Linked DNA regions of Homo sapiens: region 1 is linked to region 2. The links are contacts of gene promoters, found by promoter capture Hi-C in blood cells and fetal thymus (Javierre and others, 2016). All regions are on one chromosome and are shown on one strand. Each heading gives the region's core, a stretch centred on a gene start or on the middle of the fragment in contact. The rest is flanking DNA. Distances are from core to core; before and after follow the strand shown.

What was found. Contacts are between HindIII fragments. The CHiCAGO score rates a contact against its expected background, and 5 or more counts as called.
Region 1: the fragment with the promoter of STK24 here is called in contact with a fragment that was not itself captured in region 2 in 1 of 17 cell types (activated CD4 T cells); the score reaches 6.6 in activated CD4 T cells.

What each region holds. Positions count from the first base shown.
Region 1 is chr13:98,574,147-98,580,895 of GRCh38, reverse strand. It overlaps STK24 (serine/threonine kinase 24), which reads left to right and starts at 3,789. Exons shown (of 11, transcript NM_001032296.4): 1 at 3,789-4,151. The coding sequence starts at 4,110. STK24-AS1 (STK24 antisense RNA 1) reads right to left here and starts at 3,641. Exons shown (of 1, transcript NR_046542.1): 1 at 2,055-3,641. RefSeq lists an enhancer at 3,076-3,265 and silencers at 3,356-3,505, 3,526-3,835, 3,886-4,755, 6,220-6,279. The HindIII fragment of the contact is 9,197 bases long and covers 1-6,749 here.
Region 2 is chr13:106,568,342-106,575,428 of GRCh38, reverse strand. No RefSeq gene overlaps it. Among named protein-coding and RNA genes, the nearest start is that of ARGLU1, 3.7 kb to the right of the region's middle. RefSeq lists an enhancer at 7,026-7,087. The HindIII fragment of the contact is 1,210 bases long and covers 5,233-6,442 here.

The DNA of each region.
Region 1 (6,749 bases), core at 2,540-5,039, 8.0 Mb after region 2:
AAACCAATCTTGCTGACACCTTCATCTTGGACTTCCAGCCTCCAGAATGGTGAGGAAATAAATTTCTGTCGTTTTGGCCATCCAGTTGGTGGTTCTTTGTTACGGCAGCCCTAGCAAACTAAGGCAGGGTGCAACTGAAAACCTACTTAGGGTGATATCCCTGCAAGAGCCTGCCCTCTGAGCTCTCCACGCACAGAATGAAACCTTATTGGTACCATTCCTCAATGTAGCTGGGATATTTTTCTGGGGCTTTGGCATACCTTTTCTTGCTATTGTGTCATCCAACAATGACTAGACATTCTTCTTTAAACTGATCTTGATAATTTGTCTTCACCTACTGAACATGTGTAGAAATTTGTCTAAGCCTTCTGTTAGTTACTTATCCAAGCTACTCCTATTTCTCCCTTTAAAGTTCACCATGTAAGTCCCTTTCTTTAATCTCTGAATTTAAATTGCTAATGCTCTACTTGTCTAGCTGTTCTTTATAAAGCAGCATTTGGGGGTGTTTATCTTTTCAACTTAGAAAGAAAAGTGAAGGGATTGATTGTGGAATTCTTGTTTTCTGTTCCTCTCTGAGCTCTGCTGAGAGTGCGTACAAACTAGCTTAGGGGCAGCAAATACATAGGGGCTTTATATTTGGAGGGGCTCCATATAGGGGTATGGAAATATTCTTTGTGGTCCAGAATATATTTCAGATCATAATTCATTGCCAGACTGATGTCCTTAAGTGAACACAAAAGACAAAGAGGACCAGGGAAGAAAAATAATTCAATGGATAAAGTAAATAACTCAATGGGTTAGTATCTCCATGGAGACCATAAAATGCATCATCTCTATGGAGACTCTCATAATCTCCTTCTGGACTTACGGTAGTGTATAACCTGTTGTAATCATACATTGGGGGTGGAGGGAAAGTGACAAGAGGAAGAGGGTGAGAGGATGATCCTTTTCTTTCCTTGGTGGAAATGATAGCTATTGCCACTCTAAGTTTAATCAATTATGGTATTGTATTCATCCAAAGTTAGGATTCTGGGAGACCAGGTCCCTAGGATGGGTTAAGAGGCACCTGAGGATCTAATGTTTATATGCCCAGTACTGAACTGGGTATCTGACATGTATTAATAGTTGGTATTCAAAAAAGGTGTGAATGAATGAACATAATAGGCAATTGCACCGGATCTGATCCCGGGCTCAGGCCCTGTGCATCATCTCTGTTGTGCAAAAACAAATAAGGTGGAGACCTACTTCTGCCATGGGGAATACTCGGTACTACCTGCATAGGGCCAAGGAGAACCAGTAACTCCCATGTTGCTTCCTTCCCTTCTTTCGATAAGAATGGTGCTCAACAGTATGAACATTGTCAAAGGATGAAACAATGGTCAGTGTGGAGAGAAGATAAACAGGGTTCGGGGCAACAGACCAGCTAATGGATGCAAGTCACTGTGTCCAGAGAAGTTACATCCTGCCGGAATCTCCCTGTTTTGAGCCTCACTAGCCTCAGGACACAAACTAGGATTCCGGTTATTTTTTTATACCCAGGGTACTATGGGCCTTTGTCCCCCATCTGCTGTGACTTATTTGCTGGCAATTAGCCCACTGCAAAGTGATTTCTGAGCATTTACCATGGTAATGTCTCAGATCAGCATCCAGACATTTCCATCCATTCATCTAGTTTCTTGCTCTTTATCTTGGTGCCAGGTTATTGCCCTGGCTCTGCTGACCCTAGAAGAATATTTTTACTGTCCCTTTTCTATGCTTAGACATGTTTAGATCCACAAATATTTACCATTGTGTTATAGTTGCCTCCAGTATTGAGTTCAGTCACATGCTGTTCAGGTTTGTGGTCCAGGTGCAATACGTCATACCATATAGCCTAGGTGTGTAGTAGGCTATGCCATCTAGGTTTCTGGAAGTACACTCTATGATGCTCACGTGACAAAATCAACTAAGAACACATTTCTCAGAATGTATACCCATTGTTAAGCAATACATGACTGTGTGTCTGTAGGCCATATATATTAATATATATATAGTCATTTGAGATCAGTCTATATACAGTGTTTTGTACCCTGTATTTTCTTTAATAATATATAATGAATACATTTTCCCCATTACTAGGTACTGAAAGACATAATTTTAAATGACTACATAGTACTCGTATGAAAATGCTATTATTTACTTAACCTCTGTGAGACTTTTTGGCTGTTCCGTTTCCCCAGGATTCTAAACATCACTGTGTCTTCTTACATGCATTCTTCCACACTTCTTGGTTGTTGCCTTAGGATATGTTACTTTAGGTAGAATTCCTGGGCTGCGCTGAAGAATAGAAACATTTTAAAGATTCACATTCTTGCTTGTTTTGCTGTTCGCCTCTTTAGGTACCATATTTTTTAGGTGTACAAAATTTATACACCTGATTTTAAGTTCCTGGGTATCAGGGTTCATACTTCTCTTAATTTTGTATTTCCTTGCAGTCCTACTTACGGGTGGCAGGGCTCCTCAAGGGATGGGTGTACCAATGACAACCATGAAAGTATTCTAAGGTATTCCCTAGGACTCCGAGAAAAAACATGCATCTTTCCAAAGGGAAAGAAGGGATTAGATGTTAGCATCCTACTCCATGTCAGATCCAGAGCACCCGGGGGAACTGAAGTTCGTGGATGGAATACAATGACACCTCAGAAAAGAAATACTCCTTTGGTGGAGGCCTTTAAACTTTTGGGGGCTCATTTTGTCTGCCTAACTCGCCCAGCCAGGGCGCAAAATGGCCACTTAGGAGCATGAGTGAGGTGCCAGCGTCCCTACAATCTAAGGAGCAGGGAGTCATCACTGGGGTGGCTGCCGCTCTACCTGTTTGCGACTGTAATAAAACACCTTCTGGAGGCCGAGGGACCCGCTTCATCCTGACTTTTCCCCTCAGTAGCTAGAGAGAAGGCGGCTGAAAAGAGGAGACAGAACTGGTGCTGAGTGGGCCTGGAGCTTCCGAGGCAAGGGAAAGAGGGAGAGGGCTGCAGTTCAAAGTCCAGACGCGCTTTCCTTCCATTCTCTTCCCTTCCTCCCTGCCCTCTGCGCCCCATTTTCCCCTTATCGTGGGTGGGGGCTTCTGATTTGCTGCGGATCCCAGAGATGGTGGGGTTCAGCCTCCGCACTGCTTAGCTAAGTTCCCAGCCCAGCAGTCCCAGCCGGGCTGTTTTCGGTAACCAAAGCACTAGGAATTAACCTCTCTCTCGGCCTCTTCCCTTTCGGTTTCCTTCTTGGGTTGGCTGGAAACTTCACCCAGACACCGAAGCAGCTCTGCCCGGCCTTTTGGCACAGGCCACCGGCCGAGGCCCCACGGGGCGCTCTCCTTCCCCAGGTGCCCCCGACTCCGATCCTGCCCTCAGGGGCTCGCCCGGGACGCGTTTTCCCAGAGGCCGCCGGGGCGGGGTGGGCTGGCTGGCGGGAAGAGGGGGCCGCGGCCCAGGCTCGCCCCGGCGCCGGCCCGGTGGGCACGCGGCCAGCCTCCGGCCCCGACTCGGTCCCTCCCGGCGCCCGCCCCAGCCGAGGCCCCCTCCCGGCCCCGCCGCCCGCCCGCGGGGGCGTGGGAGCGCCGCAGGAGCAGCTGGGACCCGGGCCGGGCCGACAGGCGGCGGCTGCGGCCTAGGGCTCCCGCGCGGCCACCGGCCTCTCCCCTCCCCCTCCCGGAAGCGCGGGGCGGGGTCCCCGGCCGGGCCGTGGGGGCGGGCGCGGGGGCCGGGCCGGGGCGGGACGCGCTCGGCGCTCGCGGGCTCGGCGGGCTGTGCGCGCCCACTCCGGCTCCAGCGGCCAGCGCGCGCGGGCCCAGGCCGCCCGGCTCCAGCCCAGCAGTAGCGGCAGCAGCGGCGGCGGCGGCAGTGCGCGCGAGGCCCTGCGCCCCCAGCAGCTCCTCCCTGGCGCCGTGCATGGAGACGCGGCCCGCCACCCGCCGCTGAGCCCCCGCCGCCCGGCCGGGACCCGCCAGGGCTGGGGTGGCCTCGGGCTCCGGCCGGCCCCGCCGCCCGAGGGCTGCGCGCGGCCCGCGGGCCTCGCCGCCCCGCGCGGATCGTCGCGGCCCGGCCGTCCCGTCCCAGGAAGTGGCCGTCCTGAGCGCCATGGCTCACTCCCCGGTGCAGTCGGGCCTGCCCGGCATGCAGGTAGGCGGGCGCGGGCCGCGGGGCCGGGATGCGCGACCGGGGCGGAAGCAGCAACTTGGCGGTATCCACACGGCGTCCCCCTACGCTCAGCCGGCCGGGGTCGCGCCGGAGCCTGGCTCCCCGCGCGCCCGGCTCGGCCGGGGGTCCGAGTCCGAGTCCCTGGGCGTCCCTGCCGGCTCCGGCGGCCGAGGTCTCCGGCGTGTGCGTGCAGGAGCCGTAGGAACCGCGGCCTGGGTCCGGATGTGGGGGTGCGGGCGCCTAGTCCTCCGCGCTCCCCTCGCCCCAACACTCTTCCGGAGCTGCAGGCCCTGGGTGGCCCTGTCCCCGGGAGAAGTGAGGTGGAGTGATGCCCTTGGAGGCCCCCGCCGGGTCCCGGGGCCCTGCGTGGTGGCCGGGTTGGCGGAGGGCCCCAGGACGCGTCCCCCAGGCTCGTCCCCCACCCCCGGGCAGGCGGGCGGGAGACCTGGGCAGGGCGGGGACGGGGAGCGCGCCTGGACTCGTCCGGGCCCGAGCGGAGTAGGCAGGGTGGAGTGGAGGAAGGTAACCGCGAGTTCCACTTGCAGTGGCTTTGCCCGGAGCCCCCGTGCACCTGCGGACCGGGGGAAAGTGCGAGTTGCAAACCTTCTGGAAGGAGGAATCCCTCGGACAGCCGCGCACCAGGGTCCCGGGCCCGGCCCCGGGACCCTGGACTTTCACTTTGAGACTTGGTTGCATTTACAGGAATTCTTCGCCCAGTAAACCTCTCTTTCGGTACTTGGTGACACCTTGGCCTACCAGTGACTTTTTGGGGAGTGGGAGAGGAGTTGAATTTCAAATTTACATGTATAAGTTAAAGGTTTTTTGTTGTTGTTGTTTTCGTTGTCGTTGCTTTTAGCCCTTTGAAAAACAAAGCTACCGTCCTTGGCTAACTCTTGTAAACTTTGTAGGCGCAGAAATGGTGGCAAAATGCTTAGGATGGAAATCTTAGGATGCAGTTAGGATATGTCATGAAAGTTTGCTCTGCCAGTTTAGCTGAGTGAACGTTAAGTGTTTGAAGAAAACCAAAAGCATCCAAGTAGATTACTGGTTGATTTACAGGTACCAACAGGCTCCTTCCCTGTGTCTTGAGGGCTGAGAAGCACAGAGCCCAGACCTGGGACTGCCTCTGGGGTCTGCTCGCCTCTTCCAGTGAGATCATCCCTCTCCCTTCTTTTTTTGAAACCGTAAAAAGAAAACTGGATTTCACTGTTCAGGTTTGAATTCTGGAAAAATAGGAACTCAAAGTTACCACTTTAATGGCAGCTAGAATTTTAGTCCAAGTGTGTGTGTGTGTATATGTGTGTGTGTGTGTGTGTGTGTATATATAAGCAGTATATATATGTGTGTATATATGTTTAAGCAGTAAATAAATATACATTTAAGCAGCAACAGTTAAGTTATTATCTTAAGAGTGACTGGGAAGATGCTTGAAGAATATTCTTTTGTCGACTCTCATTTAAGGAGCGTTGAATTTAGCATGCATTCAAAACCTAAACTTCTGCTGACTGCTGGGTAACAATCAGATGTGGTTTCTTGGTATTTTCTAAAGCCGCTTTGGTATGAATTTAGAGGTGTGTAGGTCAGAGTGAACTGGGTGAAAAAAGTAATTTCTTACTAGTCGAGCAAGAAAGGACTCTTGTAATGATTTAAAAAAAAAGTTTTATCAATATTTCCTTTAGGTTGATATTTATACCGTGTTCATCAGGTTGGAATCTAGCACAAATGCCTCACTTACTAGGTTAATTGGCCTTTGTGGATAGCGAATCAGTTTGAAAAGGTACTAAAGCCCCTTTGGCTGGTGCCGTGAAGTCAGTATCAGATGGTTACCAGGTGATATCTAGTATCTCACCTTTTCATTTTTATCCTCACTTTTTTTTTTGAGTGGGTCAGAATTCTTAAACCTTGGGAAAAGAAGATACATTTCCTTAATAACTTTGCCTCTCAACTATTATGTATCTGTTAGGTTGTGTTACATGGGAACTGTTTTTATTTTGTTTTCTCAGTATGAAAGATCTTAAGTGTTTCTCAGTGGAAAAGATGATCAGATTTTCAGCTGTTACAGTTTTACAGTTTTAGAGGTAGGTAAGTTGGCTTCTGCCAGTCATTCCTGTACCTAAGTACATCTACAGACTGTATGGTAACAGTGTATCATTTGGGGAAGAACATTCTTTTCTCCTCCCCCACCCCACAAAAGAAAAACAACAGCACATTTATTTTCTACTTCAAATTAGCAGTTGCTACTGCCCTGGGAGGCTTCCCTAAGAGTTGTTGCTGAAGATTCAATTAAAAACACACCTGCTTTCGACTGTTGTCTGCTAAATGGGAGGAGAGAAGTCCGTATCTCTTCTATGGCTTGCTCTGATAGGCCTCATAGCCCTCCCTTTTTCTTGTCTCCTGACCAGGGCTTATAAGGAGTTGGCTTAGAAAGACAGCAGAGTCTGTAATCTCAGCAGTTTGAGAGGCCGAAGTGGGCGGATCATGAGGTCAGGAGATCGAGACCATCCTGGCTAACATGGTGAAACCCTGTTTCTACTAAAAATCCAAAAAATTAGCTGGGCGTGGTGGCACACGCCTGTAATC
Region 2 (7,087 bases), core at 4,588-7,087:
TGGAGTAAAGATTCAAAGATTTGAAGGAATAAAAAACTCATGTAAAATTTTGTATCCTGCAAAATTATCCTTCAAAGGTGATGGAGAAATAAAGACTCAAATCAACAAAACTGAGGGCATTTGTCACCAGTAAATCTGCCTTGCAAGAAATGTTGAAAGAAGTTCTTCAGAGGGAGGGAAAAAGATACAGGTCAGGAAATCTTCTCTACCTAAAGAAAGGATGAGAGTTGGGAAAGGAAAAAAGAAGACTCTTAAGTTGTCCTTAGAAGCCCTTACTGCTGACAGTGTTGAATTTTACCTGTGTTCTTAGAAAACAGAGGATGCTAAGAAATCTCCCATCCTTCGTGCTAGAGGAAATGACTTAACTTCAAGATCCCTCTTCCTTGTATGACTTAAATTAGACTCATGGAAGCCCCCTGTATTAGTCTGTTTTCATACTGCTATAAAGAGCTGCTGAAGGCTGGGTAATTTATTACTTTCAATGGCAAAAACTGCAATTACTTTTGCACCACCCTAATATAAAGGAAAGAGATTTAATTGACTCACAGTTCAGCATGACTGGGGAGGCCTCAGGGAACTTACAATCATGGTGTAAGGCCAAGGGGAAGCAAGGCGTCTTCTTCACAAGGCGGCAGGAAGGAGAAGTGTTGAACGAAGGGAGAAGAGCCCCTTATAAAACCATCAGATCTCATGATAATTCACTCATTATCACGAGACCAGCATGGGAGAAACCACATCCATGATTCAATTTCCTCCACCTGGTCTCTCCCTTGACAAGTGGGGATTATGGGGATTACAATTCAAGGTGAGATTTGGGTGGGGACACAAAGCTTAACCATATCACCCCACCCCTGCCCCTGTTTACTTATGACAGGCCAGACTGGGCCTTCCAAATTCCTATTCTTTGCCTCATAGATTAGCTGAACTATTTTTTCCCCTGAAATTAATGGAAACAAAATTCTTATTTATTGAACTTTGGTTAAGTTTCTGTCCTTTCCCCAGGTCCCAGAACCTTGGCCCACCATCAGCCTGAGCTGGTCTTCACTCACTCCTAAGAACAGGCTGGCCTCCAGAAGAATGTTCCCTGATCCACTACCCACTTTTGGGACCCCTTCATCCACTTCCTCACATCACTTCCTTGTTTATTCCTCCTATAAAACAAAACCACTTTTTGCCTAACTCTTGAGATGCCTGCAGATCTCATGTGTAGAGTGTTCTATTTATTACAATAGTCTCCCCACACCCCACCACCATCCAACCCCTTCCAATGATACTTTTGAACAAAATCTCGCCTAAGTCATGGTTTATTTGACACTGTAAATTTGGCCTCCCACTTTGGCCTGGCTCCATGTCAAAGCCTGCCAAGCTCACACTCCCATCTCAGGAATCAGCTCCAGTCACCGTCCAGTCCGAGCAAGTTGCTGGGAAGTATGTCCTTAGCCTTCTATGCTCACAGCACCAACAGCTTTTGCTGCCTTGCTTTTCATGCACTTGAACAGAAATGACAGAGATCTCCAGGTTTGTTGCTGCTGGAACTATCAATATGTGCTTTCCCTAGTCAGGAGGTATTTTTTTCCTGCCTCTTGAGTAAAGAATTCCCTTTTTAACAAGCTTTTTTTCCCTTGTTTGTTTGTTTGTTTTTGCATACAGTCACACTCACAATTAGTCTTGCATAGCATAGGGCCTCCTGACAATGGTTTTAGATGAATTGATGATCATTTGGCTTAGGAAAAAGAAATGTACGATGTGTGCAGAACTACACATTCTGAATTGGATCATAAGATAGTTTTTAGAAGCTAGAGTTCTCCAGATTTCCAGATTTTATTGCCAGAGCAGTGATGAAAGCAGTTTACTCATCTTCAAATTATGTAATATTCAGTAATTGTGAATTCTCTTTAAAACTCTTCAAAGAACCCATGCTGCCAAGAAAAGCCAGACAACACGTTCCATATTGATTTGCTCATTCTGAATGTTTTGTTGACCGCGTCCCATCATGTGCTCCTAGGTCCTAGGCCTGAGATGGATGACCCGAATCTTAGACACGGACGCCAACTCCCCCAACCCCCTGCCCCGCCAACCCCCAAACCAAAGGAGCTCACTTTTTAGCTAGAGAGATGAATATTAAATAATTAATGAACATGTTTATTTTTATTTTTTTAGGTTTATTTTCATTGTGTTGACGTTTACCTTTAAATTATTGAACACATTTATATGTCATTTTTAGAACTTATGAATAAAGTGCTGCCAAGGAGACAACCTACCAAGGGACTGGGAGTCAGTGGGATAGGGAGAAATGGGCATAAACTGGGTGTCAGACAGCTCAGGAAAAGTTAGGTAGGTGAGATTCTAAGAAACAACACTATAGAGAGAGTGGGACCATGGTGCCCAAGGACTCCACCTGCACTGTAAGTGTAGACATAACTCTCTGAGCAACTAAGATGGTATTTTCCATTAACAAGGCAATCAATACTTACGACGCTTCATGGGCATGTTGTAAAATACATCTCAAACTTTGAAAAGTTGGCAAAAACAATTGAGGATCAATTTAATTTAAGAATTAGGATCAGTAATTTAAGAATTAGGAGTATATTAGTCTGTTTTCACACTACTATAAAGAACTGCCCGAGACTGGGTAATTTATAAAGGAAAGAGGTTTAATTGACTCACATTTCAGCATGGCTGAGGAGGCCTCAGGAGACTTACAATCATGGCCCAAGGTGAAGGGAAAGCAAGGCACCTTCTTTACAAGGTGGCAGGAAGAAGAAATGAACCCAGGAGGAACTACCACTTATAAAACCATCAGATCTCATGAGAACTCACTCACCATCATGACAACAGCATGCGGAAACCACCCCCATGATTCAATTACCTCCACCTGGTCTCTCCCTTGACACATGGGGTTTATGGGGATTACAATTCAAAATGAGATTTTGGTTGGGAAAACAGCCAAACCATATTAAGGAGGAAAGATACATTCATGCATCTCCTATTTTTTACATTAAATTGTTCTTTGGAATGATCTGGATTTGAATGATGTGTTATTTATATTTGGCTATCCTAATTATTCAAACATGAACTGAGAAAATGCTTTTATTGGAGAAGGGAATGGAGGAAGGGAGGCAACTAAAAATTTTAAGAGTCTGAAAACAAAACAAAACAAAACAAAACAAATGAAGCCAAACTTATACTTAGGATAAAAAACCATGCAATTCTCTTCTTTCAAGGTGTATTCGGCATATATTTATCGAGGTTAGCTAACCCATAGGGTGTCAGTGGACACAAAACAGTCAAGATGCCGAGAATTTGGATTCTGGTGGCAAAAAATAGTCAATAAAGAAATACATGAGAAAATAAGGTGAGTTCAGGGAGTGTGAAATGTCAAGATTTTGATAATTATACTATAAAATGCAGGCATAAAATGTGTGTGTTCCTCATTCCTTCAATGCATCCTCAGAGATGATCCCTGGTAAATTAAGGGCTTTCATGCACTTTTTCCTTTTTTTTTTTTTTTTTTTTTTTCCTGGCAGCAGCCAAAAGACATGGCCAGAGCCTGAGCAGGGTAAATATCATCTTTTTTTTTTTAGACAGAGTCTTGCTCTGTCACTTAGGCTAGAGTGCAGTAGCCCGATCTTAGCTCACTGCAACCTCTGCCTCCTGGGTTCAAGCAATTCTCTGCCTCAGCCTCCTGAGTAGCTGGGATTACAGGCACCCGCCACCACGCCTGGCTAACTTTTGTATTTTTAGTAGAGACGGGGTTTCACCATCTTGACCAGGCTGGTCTTGAACTCTTGACTTTGTGATCCACCCGCCTCAGCCTCCCAAAGTGCTGGGATTACAGGCATGAGCCACCACGCCCGCCCCAATATCATCCTCTTTTAAAAGCTCCATAATCCCCTATACCTCTACATCCAATCTCCAGTGGTCTTATAAGAAGAGGACAGACGTACAGTAAAGATGGAGACAGGGACTAAAAGCCAAGGAATGCCAGCAAGCACCAGGAGCTAAGTGAGAGGCAGTGAACAGATTCTTCTCCAGAGCCTCCAAAGGAACCAACTTTGCTGACATTTGATTTTGGACTGCTGGACTCCAGAACTGTAAGTGAATACATTTCTGTTCATTTAAGACATCAGTCTGTGGTAATTTGTCGGGGCAGCTCTAGAAAATTTATACACTAACTCATTGGAAATAACTATCTTTATCATTAAACAGACATCATTCTGGATTATATATATATGTAATATACATATATATAAACAAAATTCCAGATATATCTATACATCATATCATATATTCACACCATATATGGATATATAAACCATATATATCATTCCCACTGGATAGATAGGTACAGATACGTACAGACAGATGGTTAGATTGACAGAAATATTTCTACTATAATGGGGGTAATTCTATACATTCTATATTAAATGTGATTTTACTTGAACGTATCTGAAGTAAAAGAATAGATCTATCCTTCTATTGCACTGTTTTCCTATTTCTGTCCTAAAATCTTGTTGTTCAGTTTATTCAATTTTGTGTAGGGCAAACAGGTACTGTTTGCTACGGTCTAAATGTTTGTGTGCCCTCCCAAACCCAGATGTTGAAATCTAATCACCAATGTAATGGTATTAGGAGGTGGGGCTGCTGGAAGATGACGGTATTAGGAGGTGGAGCCGCTGGAACACGATGGTATTAGGAGGTGGGGCTGATAGGAGACAAAGGTATTAGGAGGTGGGGCTGCTGGAACATTATGGTATGAGGAGGTGGGGCTGCTGGGAGATGACGGTATGAGGAGGTGGGGCTGCTGGGAGATGACGGTATGAGGAGGTGGGGCTGCTGGGACATGATGGTATGAGGAAGTGGAGCTGCTGGGACAGGATGGTATTAGGAGGCGGGGCTGCCGGGAGACGATGGTATTAGGAGGCGGGGCTGCCGGGAGACGATGGTATTAGGAGGCGGGGCAGCTGGGAGACGATGGTATTAGGAGGTGAGGCTGCTGGCTCTGCCCTCATGAATTGGATTAGTTCCTATCTTAGTCCATTCAGCCTACTATAAGACTACCTCAGACTGGGTCATTTATAAACAGCAGAAATTTATCGCTCAGAGTTCTGGAAGCTGGGAGTCCAAGATTAAGGCACTGGCAGATTCAGTGTCTGGTGAGGCCTCACTCTCTGCTTCATAGATGACACCTTTTTCTATGTCTTCACATGGTAAAGAACGGGTGAACAAGCTTCCTTGGGCCCCTTTTATAAGGGCATTGCTATGGCTTAAATGTATGTGTCTCTCTAGAATTCCTATGTTGGAGCCTAAAATCCACTATAATAACATTAAGAGCTGAAGCCGTTTTGGAAGTGATTAAGAAATGAGGCTCCACCCTCTTGAATGGGAATAGTATCCTTACAAAAGAGGTTGACAGGAGTGTCCTAGTTCCCCCCCCTTTTTTTTTGCCCTTTTGCCTCCCATCCCTTCCCTCATGTGAGGACACAGTGTTCGTCCCCTTCTGTGGACCCAGCAAAACAAGGCACTATCTTGGAAGCAGATAGCAAGCTCTTATCAGACACTGACTCTGCTGGTACCTTTATCTTGGACTTCTTAGCCTTCAGAACTCTGAGAAATAATGTCTATTATTTATAAATCACTCAGTCTAAAGTATTCTGTTATAGCAGTGGAAATGGGCTGAGATAGGCACTAATTCCAGTTATGAGGTTAGAGCCCTCATGACCTAATCAATATCCCAAAGCCCCACCTTTTAATACTATTGCACTGGTGATTAGGTTTCAACATATGAATCTGAGGGAACACAAACTTTCAGACCCTAGAAGTGCCACTAAAAGAGAGCTCAGAGAGCTAGCTTTCCCCTTCTATCATGTGAGGGCACTGTGAGTAGGTGCCTTCTGTGAGTCATCTGTGAATCTCTGGGTCCTCACCAGCGACCAGATTGGCTAGCACCTGGATCCTGGATTTCCAACTTTCAGAACTGTGAGAAATAAATTTGTTGTTCATAAGCTGCCTAGTTTATGATATTTTGTTACAGCAGTCAACACAGACTAATACACTACTCTTCTTTGTTTCCAAGTTTTCTTGATAATTAATTATGTGATCTTCCATATAAAACTTAAAATTAATTAGTTCTAAAACACATATCCCCAAGAGAATTTGGGACTCTCATGAGAATTGCACTAATTTTGTAATTTGACTTGGGAAGAATTGACAGTATTTTTGATACTGACTACTCACCTAAGAATACAGCATGTTTTACATTTACTAGGGCCTTATTACTGCCTTTTCAGTAAAGGTTTATAATAAAGATTGTGTAACTTGTTAAAGTTTATCCCTAAGTATTTTATGGTTTCTGTTGCCATTGTGGAGGAAATATTATTTCATTTTTAATATGTTTTTGCTTATTCAAATAATTCTAATTTTTCTTCTACTTACTTAAGCTTTATTATTGCACTCAATTTTAAAATTGAGGCACCTAGATTTTCAAGGGTTCCTGTCATCTGCAAATATTAACATTGCCTTTTCCTTTTAGGTCTTAACAATGACACAGTTTGTTGTGCCACATAGGGACGAAGCTTTTCGTGGCTAGGGTTGAGGAGGGCTTGCTGGTTATGTGCAAGGGCTTTGCACAATATGATCTAGGTTCACGTCCCTGCTCTGTCACCTACTGGTTGTGTGACCCTTATTTAACCTCTGTGGACCTCAGGGTCCTCATCTCTGAAACGTGGATAATAGTAGTACTTAATTCAGAATTGTAAGAATTAAGCACTTGTTAATACATTAAAGCATTTAGAAGGCACATTAAGCCCTATAGTAAGCATTAGGTTACATTCATCAAAACCTGCTGCCTACTTACCTCCTGCAAGTCTCATAAGCACTTCAGAAAGTGTGGTGTCTCCATTCTACGAATGAGGAAACTAAGTCCAAGGCAGCAAGTGATGAGTGCAGGGTCACTTGGAGATACATTTTAGGGCTGCCCCACAAGACCAGCTCCTAGAAAATAATGCAATCAATCAACTTCTGCGAGGCCGGACTTAAATCCCACTAAAACGTGCTTAATTCATTCAACAGGCGTTGGCATCTTACC